Linked DNA regions of Homo sapiens: region 2 is linked to region 1. Evidence: promoter capture Hi-C in human tissues and cell types (Jung and others, 2019). All regions are on one chromosome and are shown on one strand. Each heading gives the region's core, a stretch centred on a gene start or on the middle of the fragment in contact. The rest is flanking DNA. Distances are from core to core; before and after follow the strand shown.

The links. Contacts are between HindIII fragments. The study calls those that stand out against the background at their distance.
Region 2: the fragment with the promoter of PTTG1IP here is called in contact with the fragment with the promoter of LSS in region 1 in 1 of the 25 tissues and cell types used here (mesenchymal stem cells).

What each region holds. Positions count from the first base shown.
Region 1 is chr21:46,226,492-46,231,179 of GRCh38, reverse strand. LSS (lanosterol synthase) reads left to right here and starts at 2,406. Exons shown (of 22, transcript NM_002340.6): 1 at 2,406-2,448; 2 at 2,581-2,746; 3 at 3,490-3,628. The coding sequence starts at 2,435. It overlaps MCM3AP-AS1 (MCM3AP antisense RNA 1), which reads right to left and starts at 1,949. Exons shown (of 4, transcript NR_110565.1): 1 at 1,914-1,949; 2 at 653-853. RefSeq lists silencers at 1,602-2,041, 2,102-2,361, 2,372-2,541, 2,602-2,651 and enhancers at 2,071-2,365, 3,082-3,151. The HindIII fragment of the contact is 14,795 bases long and covers 1-4,688 here.
Region 2 is chr21:44,871,550-44,876,237 of GRCh38, reverse strand. PTTG1IP (PTTG1 interacting protein) reads left to right here and starts at 2,548. Exons shown (of 6, transcript NM_004339.4): 1 at 2,548-2,736. The coding sequence starts at 2,622. RefSeq lists enhancers at 1,591-2,268, 2,426-2,926, 2,927-3,427 and a silencer at 2,185-2,834. The HindIII fragment of the contact is 14,261 bases long and covers 1-4,688 here.

The DNA of each region.
Region 1 (4,688 bases), core at 1,157-3,656:
ACACTTTGGGAGGCTGAAGTGGGAGGATTCCTTGTGGCCAGGAGTTTGAGACCATCCTGGGCAACATAGCGAGACCCCGTGTCTCTACCAAACTTTAAAAAAATCAGCCAGGTGTGGTGGCACACGCCTGTAGTCCCAGCTATTCAGGAGGCTGAGCCCGGAAGATCACTTAGCCCTGGAATTTGAGGCTGCAGTGAGCTAATGATTGTGCCACTGCATTCCCACCTGGGTGACAGACTGAGATCCTGTCACTAAATAAATAAAAGACACCTCTATTTTAGTAAATGACCACCACCATATACCCAGTTGTTGAGGCCAAAATCCTCAGAGCCTTCTGTATCTGGCTTAATGAATAAGCTGGATGCAGTAGTATGTAAGCAGATAGGAACAGTGTTTTTTCTCATGACTGCCCCTAGAAGCTTAACTGTGTCAATTCTCAGACGTAGTTTACAGCTTTTTCTTTTCTTTCAGACATTAAAAAGAGCGGATTATTTTACTCATAAAAAGTCCAGTCCATTAAGATATCAAAACTCAAACTCTTATCCAGTTGAAACCTCTTCCCTCACCTAGCTTTGCCAGGTTCAGTGTGAGATTCCATCCAGGCTGAAGCCCCTTATCCCTATTCTTCATGTTTCTACATGGAGGAACTTACCTGGAGAAAAACTTCCAGCCTCTTTCTGCTTCCAGAGAAGTAGAGTGACTCATTTGATTGAATTTCAGAGAACAGATAGGGTGGAGTGTGCTCAGGCTCCTCTGGGTACTCTTTCTGGGGTCTGTGGGTTGACTGGAGGGGTGTCTTCTGGTGGGCACTCAATTGCATAGTGCTTGGTGAGGCAGTTTCATGGCCTAGAGGCTGGGGGATATGTTTGTCTGACTTAACGGGTGATTTAGTAGCTTGCCCTCTTGCTTGCAGATTTAAGCCTTGTCCTTCAAGCTAGGTTTTTAATTTGTGGCAAAGCTGATATTTTGATACCCACCCATCTTATTGCTGTGTCTTTTTCATCCGTTTCTGAACTGGGATAGGAAGAGGTGATTATCCTTGATTGTCTAAAACCCCGCTATTCCACTGTGGGGAAGGTGCCTGTGGGTATTCTTTTGTCCACTCTCTCTTCCAACTTTCTCCTCCGGCTTGCTGTGGCTCACCGCCCCTTCGAAGTTAGGCTGGGGGTAGGAATTGAGGAGTGGGTGCCGAAATGCTCACTAGGCTGGGGCAGTTGTAACTGGATGTCAGGGCTTCTGTGGGCCAGGTGAAGACATGCTGGGGTCTTCTGTGGGTCCTTGACCTGACTTACGGACCACTGGCTGCAGCCTCCAGACGTCAGCCATGTTTCCAACAGTCAGACGCCCCCTGCCCTGTTGCGCCCGGCTGTCCCTTCCAAGTTCGGTCACTCGCTCTGCCTCCATCTTCCTCTTCCCTCTGCTGCTAAGGCTTTTCACCTTTAATTTCTCCTGGGGCCACCCCCAACTCCAGCGACCCCGTGAGCAGCTGAGGCTCTACCGCGCTCGGTCCTGGCCAGCGACGCAGCCCTTCCCTGGCGGGGCTCCAGGGCTTCTGGCCCCTGTGGTCCGCCAGGTGTGGGGGCCCACGGCCTCACCGCGCCTACCCCACTCCCCCCGGCGAAGCTACGCGGCGCTCAGCTTCCCAGGGACGCCGGCGGCGCCCTCGGCTCCTCCGCTCCGCCCCGCCCTCCCCCTGGTCTCGCACTGGAGCCGACGGCCCGCGCCCACCTCACCTCAGGGCGGCCTCCCGCCCCCACCCCCGGCCCCGGCGTCCGGGCAAATCCTGCAGCGCGAGAGCAATTCCCTGCCACCCGACCTTCGCACTCGCTGTCGCTCGCTCGAGCCTCGCTCCCCACGTCCTTCCTTCCGACCCGCGGCTGGACCCTCCTCACAAATTTCTCAGAGAGGCTCACCTCAAAGCGCGGCGCACGAGGCCGGGCTCCCGGGACGCAAGCCTCTAGAGGGCGCGCGAGAGGCCCCGCCCCCGCCCTTCGGCCCCACCCACCAGCCCCGCCCCCACCCGCACCCACCAGGCCCCGCCCCCACCTCCCCACCCACCAGCCCCGCCCCCACCTCCCCACCCACCAGCCCCGCCCCTCATGCCCCGCCAATAAGGCCCCACCCGCCTCCCCCGTCCCGTCGCCTTCACCCACCATCCCCGCTCCCTCAGGCCCCGCCCCACGCCGCATGGGGCACCAAGCGCTCCACCACTGTGGTCGCCTGGCACACCCCGGGGTCACGCTCGCGGCGCTCTGATTGGTTGCGTGGGCGTCGGCCCACCTAAGCCTGAGCGCCTGCCGAGGCCTGCGCCTGCGTAGTGCGCGCGGGAGGGGCGGGAGGGGCGGGAGGGGCGGGAGGGGCGGGGCTGGGCGGCAGGTCCCGGGTGCGGACATCTGGCAGCTGGCAGTGGGCGGCGTAGAGCACTGCAGCAGCAATGACGGAGGGCACGTGAGTCCCCTCGCCCCGGGCTCCTGACGAATGCGGGGTGGTCCTAGGTGCTGAGGAGAGCGCGACTGGGGCAGTGGGCCGGCGGCCGGCGTTGGGGCGGGGCCTGGGTCGCTGATGGCCGGTGGTCCTCAGGTGTCTGCGGCGCCGAGGGGGCCCCTACAAGACCGAGCCCGCCACCGACCTCGGCCGCTGGCGACTCAACTGCGAGAGGGGCCGGCAGACGTGGACCTACCTGCAGGACGAGCGCGCCGGCCGCGAGCAGACCGGCCTGGAAGCCTACGCCCTGGGGCTGGACACCGTAAGTTGCTTCCGCGGAGCGTCAGCGAGCTCGGGACCCTGAGGGGTGAGCCGTGAGGAGCACGTTTTCTCTCAGAAAGGCGGGTGGGAGGACCCGGCCAGCGACGCCCATCCCCAAGGCGAGCGCCCACGGGAACTGCGTTCGCGGGCCCCTCCGCTTCAGCCCCTTCATCTCTAAACCACGCATAGGAGACTCCTAATGTTTTATTTTTTAGCACCTTATTTTGAGATAATTTTTGACTTATAGGAGAGTTGCAAAGATAGTTGTAACTTTGTTTTTATTCACAAAAAGTGTTTGGATCCACTGTCTTAGTTGTGTGCATTGTAAGAGATTTTGGTCGTCAGAGTCTGCAGTGTAAACAGGGTCTCCTGCCGAGCCCCGGCCACCGAGGGAAAGGCTGTGCCGCCCCTTGGGCCCTCTTTGAGAGGCCCGAGTCCCAGGCCCAGGTCGGCACCCGTGCCCCACCCTACAGTCTGGGTGCCTGGTTTATTCCAGACATCTTGGAGAAGTTGTGAAGAATACATGACTGGCAAATAAAGCAACGAAAATGTGCAGCTGTTCTTTTACTTTGCTGAGGTGTGATGCTCTCATCAAAGAGTTTCAGACTTTTGATGGAAACAGCTGAAACTTTTAAAGTAATTTACATTCACTGTTTTGACTTGGGCTGTATGTGAAGAGGGTTCCTCTGGCCGGGCAACAGTCCCGTCAGCTATCTCTTTTTTTTTTTTTCGATCTCTTTGCAGAAGAATTACTTTAAGGACTTGCCCAAAGCCCACACCGCCTTTGAGGGGGCTCTGAACGGGATGACATTTTACGTGGGGCTGCAGGCTGAGGATGGGCACTGGACGGGTGATTATGGTGGCCCACTTTTCCTCCTGCCAGGTAGGAGTATGCTGCCCCAGCCTGATGGTATGGCCACCCTGGATCACCCTTGGGATCCTGGCCCAGCCTGGTCTAGGGTTTTGATGAAGCAGGTGAAAATCCAGGGGCTCACAAGAAAAGGGCTGGCAAACTCTGCCCTATGTCAGAGTCGTCCTGCTATTGGTCTAGGGGATCAGCTAGCCTTGCCAGTGTAGGGTGACAGGCTCTCTGATAAGAGAAGCAAGTGGTTCTCTAGGGCTCTGTGTTGCCTTGAGGGAGGAGGAAGGTGGGCTTTGAAGTCTCAGTACAGGATGGGATGGACATTCCAGGTGGAAGGCCCAGCCTATGCCAAGGGGCTGTAGGTGGGCAGAGTGGTGGGTGGGGAGCTGATATCTGCTGTGAACTTCCTCGGGGCTATTGCAGGAGAGCTTCAGGTTCAGGCTGGTGAGTAGGAGGAGCATAGCAGTTGGACTGCCTGGGTATTGAACTGATTTGGCTACACAAGACTATTTTGCATCCTGGGAGTGTTTCTCTACAGAAATCCTCAGCCTTGTAAAATGGGAAATTCCCTCCTATGAATTTATGCAATAGGACTTTTTTCCCTAGTGACTTGTAATCACATTGTTTCAATGACGTGAATTCCTACATAAATAGGTTTTGTTTCTGTGATAACTCTTACTGATACATCATTTTCTTTTACTACGCTGACTTTGTAATAGATAGAAAGTCCTTATATACCTTTGTTGCCTTTCTTTTTAAAACATCTCTTACCTGTGTCTATTCATTTACTCATCCAAATTGCCTTTATCCTGATTTTGTCCCAGACTTGAAATGAAGTTGCAATAGGCTTATATGTTAGTTTGGGAAGAGTTGGCCTTTAACGTTAAAAACAGTTCCATGGTGTTTACTGTAGGCCAAGCCCTGCTCAAGGCCTGTTCTTCTTTTAGTCCTTAGAATAAGCCTAATGAGATACATTAGAAAGCTGAGGCACATTTATTCCAGGTAACCAGACTAGCAGGAGGAGCACTGGGATCCCCATCTCTGCTTTGACTTCTAGCCCTGCTGCCACCTGGACTGTACA
Region 2 (4,688 bases), core at 1,299-3,798, 1.4 Mb after region 1:
AGTCGCTTGAACCTGGGAGGCGGAGGTTGCAGTGAGCCAAGATTGAGCCATTGCACTCCAGCCTGCGCAACAGAGCGAGACTCCGTCTCAAAAAAAAAAAAATTATTTTTCCCAAAGTAGAGGCAGGGTCACACACTCGGGTATTTAAATTCTCTGGGAAAACCAGTGGGGTCCTGGTGAGCATCAGGAAATTCCTTGATTATACTTTTAAGTTCTACCTTTGACCATAACTCATGAACTAGGGCACATAGTTGTCCCCTATGAGAGACACTGGCTGTTTGAGCAATGGCCCCAAAACAGGAGGAGGAGGAGGAAGAAAGGTGGGTCTGGGCGAGGTAATTCAGACAACAAAGGATAAAGAGAAGGAGCTGAGGGAGGAGGGGGAGAAATTTCAGTAGTCTTTTTTAAATTCAGAAATTATTTTAGATAATTTTTGTTTTTCTCTCATAAATACCTTTATTAGAACTTCTTTTGGATGCTTCCAACTACCATAAAAAATAACTCTCCCAAAGATTCCGTTTTATCCTAGAGCCAGCGTTTTCCAATTGAGCAAACAAGTAAATTACCTTGGTGTTCCAATGGTACCCGGCTTTGGTCACTGAAATGTTTTTTCTCAAGTTACGTGAGACCATTTTTCTAAATATAACGAGAGGTGGCACCATAAGCACTGCACAGGAAACCAGCTGGAGTTTCCAAAGATGGGTCCTCCCTGAAGGAGAAAGACTTGTTTTGGATGGACGATTGCCTATGAGTTCTCTTAAGTGACAAAAGACTGTAAGGGAAAATCTGGTTACTCAAGAAGAAAGTTTAGACATGTCAAATTGAACTCAGCTCCAGAGCCTGGCCAGTTTTAAGGATTACAAATTTTGCTTAAGCCACGATTCGCTGCTTCTTTTCAAAGAGAAACTGCTTTCCCCTTCTCCAAATCTGAAGGACAAAAAAGGTTGCAAACTTTAGCAAGACGAACAAAACCTTAACCTCGAAGGATAGTGTTAACCACACACCTGCAAACAGCTGACTCTTTGGAGAAATAACAAACGAAACTCTTGCCTTAAAACCAAGCCTCAACTCCAGCCCTATCAGGTGTGGACCTGGGTAGGCGGAACAGAGTCTGAACCTCAGCCCTGGGAGGCTGCCAGAGACCCCGGCCAGGTTCCCAGGCGGTCCGGTGAACCAAGGCCGCTCCGCGGGTGCCAGCGCTCCGAGTGCCAGAGAAGTGGCTCGGATCACAAGAGGCTGGCTTCGGAGCCATCTGCAGGCGCCCAAATCCCAACCTAAAATCACCACAGGGTCAGAATCTAATGTAAGGGGGGGTTATTCAAAGGCAGTTGGAGGCTGGCCCACCCGGAAACACCGGCTCCAGAGGAATGGAGTCCGCCCTCGGAAGCGGGGAGGGGAAGGGTGCCCTCGGGCAGGCAGAGGCGGAGGCTTTTAGCAGGACCGCGGCGTCCTTCCTACGAGGTGGGCGCAGTCCTCGCGTTTGATGGACGACGGGCAGTGCCTGCTTCAGGGAAGGGTGCGGCAGTCACGGTTTCCCGTCTTCTGGTCTAAGCAGTGCAGAAAACAGGGAAGTTCATCTACAAGGGTCATGAACTAAGAAGGCAGGAGGTTTCTGTCCCCGGCACCGGCGAATCCCGGACCCGAGAAAGGAGCTACGGGCGCACAGAAGCGGGCGGCCCCGGCTCTCGCGGGGCTTAAAGCGCGCAGTGTGTTCGGGTTCACACCTCTAAATGTATTTTTGCCATTTCTTAAGTAGCCTTAAAAATGTCCGTCACTATTTAGTCCTTTTATCAACCGAGGGGCCCGGAAGGCCGCAGCGAGGGCGTCGGCGAGAAGCCATGGAGGAGAAACGGCGCTTCTCTCGGGAGTTTAGGTGGCAGCTTCAGCAGCACACGTTTCAGCCCATTCTGGGGCCGTTTCTAGTGTGGTTAACGTACAAAAATAAACAAATCCCCTAAAAGTCCCACGCGGACATCGGCGGGAGCCCAGGGCCGGACGCCGCGGTGTGGAGCGAGGGCGCCGGCGCGGACTATGAGGGCCCACCGCGCCTCGTCCAGGGCTCACTTAAGAGCAGCGTGAGCAGCGCTTGGGACCGCCGTCCGGGACGCCCGCAGCCCTTTAGGATGGAGGCCACCGTGACCTCCGCCACCGAAGCACCGCGCTCCCCTAGTCCCCTCAGCCGGTCGCCGTTCCCCGCCGCGCAGGCGCAGGAGCCGCGGCGAGCCCCTCGGTCACGCCTCGCCCCTCGGTCACGCCTCGCCCCTCGGTCACGCCTCGCCCCTCGGTCACGCCTCGCCCCTCGGTCACGCCTCGCCCCTCGGTCACGCCTCGCCCATCCGCGCCGCGCAGGCGCACTGAGCCTCAGCCGCTCTCCTCGCTACCAGGCTCCTTTCCTCTATCGCGCAGGCGCACTGAACCTCAGCCGCGCCGGGAGGCGAGCCCGTTGGCGAGGGGCGGGGCAGATGGCGAGGGAGCGGGGCGAGCTGCTTTTTGAGGCTGCGCACTCGCATGGCCCCACCTCGCAGGTCCACTTCCGGCGCCGCGGCTGTTCCGGGCGGAGACCGCTTGTGCTGGAGTCGGAGTTGTAACGCTCCACTGACTGATAGAGCGACCGGCCGACCATGGCGCCCGGAGTGGCCCGCGGGCCGACGCCGTACTGGAGGTTGCGCCTCGGTGGCGCCGCGCTGCTCCTGCTGCTCATCCCGGTGGCCGCCGCGCAGGAGCCTCCCGGAGCTGGTGAGGGCGCCGGGGCGGGCGGGGCCGCGAAGGGGGCGGGGCGGCTGGTGGGTCCAGGTCGGGGTCGGGGTCGGGGTTTCGGCCAGGGCGCTGGGCTCGGCGGGCGGCCTGGGCCCACGGTCGCAGGCAGCGCCCCGACGGAGGCTCCTCGAGGGTCACGCCCGTTTGGCGGCCGCGGGAGCTGCCGTCGCGGCTGGGGCGCGGGCAGGGGAAGAGCCGTCTTTGTCTTTGTCTTTGTTTTGTCCAGTCGCTGCGGCCGCTCCTCGCGCGTGGCCTCGGGTTGGCCCTCGCCCGGCAGGCGGGACGCTTGGCACCTGCGGCCTCCCTTAGCCTCACTGCGACCCCAAACAGCACTCCTCGGGTTCGATCCCGAGCCGGGAAGCCGGCTCACGACGTGTTCGAGGTCGCACAGCTGGTCGGGGGCAGGCCGGGATGGCGGCCGCAGGCCCCTGCAGGGTGATGGGGCCGCGGCCGGTGTGTCTCTACAGCCGCCGGCGTTCACGCCGCCACTCCCTCCCGGCCGCAGTTCCACGCACAGCAGCGAACGCTCGCACTTATGCCTTAGAAAGGAAGGCGTCCCCAAAGCCAGGCTGTAGCATCTGATTTTGAAGCAAGCTGATTGCGGTTCTACGCTGTCCAGACGCGCAGGTGGCATTCTTCATCGTTTATCCCGTCTGCACCAGGCCCTGCGGCCACAGTGGTGACCGACAGCCAGAGCTCCTATCCAAGAGGAGCTGAGTCCCCGGGAGGCTGACCAAGAAAGAAGCAGTGAGGGCGCGGGGGCTGGGGGAGGAAAGTGCATGACAGGAGACTCAGAGTTCCAGAAACCGGCAGTGTTTATAGAGGGTGGCTTCCTGTGGGGCTGGGCCTCCAGGGCCTGGTGGGCTGCGGGAAAATCCAGCAGGTTCTAAGCTGGAGAGTGTCATGGTTGGACCTGTTTCACAATGTCATGCTGGCTTCCGTGTGTGGAGTTTCCAGGTGACCACTAGTGGTGGGGAATAGTGCCACCTTAACTTCAGTTTCCTGACCCTTACAATTAGGGTTGACCTGGGCCCAGCTTGAGGGGCTAATACTTTTCTCAGCTCTTGTTAGCCCAGGCTCTGTCAGTGTCTGTTTAGCATAGTAGAGCACCTTTTCTTTTTGTGACCTTATGGAATGTTTATTCCGATGCAGGATTATTTGTGTTTCTTCTTACCTGCCTCCAAGTGTGCTTAGGGTTTGTGACGTTAGCAATGCAGCTGCCTTGAAGTTTGTTAGTCAAGGAGGCCAGTGGGACTGTACTGGGAACTTTTGGCCCAGATTGAGTTCTAAGCGCAAATGTGCAGTGAATACGTTTCCACAAACAGAATGGGCGTCTGCAGGCAGAGTGTGTGATTCACTGGCAACTGTATCAGTGGCTCGGGGGTGTGTTTGCTTGCATTGTGAAAGCGGGAGTGTCAGGAAAACAACCATGAGGTTTTGTTTGACTGTGATTCCTCCTGCTCTGCACTGCTGAAGGGTGCAGAGATGGGTGTGGACGAGTGGAGTGGACAGTGTGGGAATTAATCCGGAACTGCCATTCGGTGTGTCAGCTGAAAAGCCATTCGGTGTGTCTGCACTTGGAGGCTGCACTTGCTTGCTTCCACTTATGGTAATCACCAAGTCCTGGTGGGTGGACTGTTGTTTCTCTCACTGGGGACCCCTTGGAATAGGAAGAATGGTGCCGTGTCATGTTGGCATTCACTGCCCAGGCGCCTTTGGTGTCTGCGTGCCCCTTGTCCTTGGAGAGAGGGGCTATTTATAGCCTGGAGAACTCCCCTCTTCCCACAGAGTACTTGCTTGGTGTGAGATTTTTACTGCTTGTCATGGTTACAGGAATGTGACCGCAGTACTGATGTTTAAAACGTTTTGTCTCCTTTACAAGGACACTGTGTGAATTTAGAGAATACATTATACCAATCCAAATCCAACAC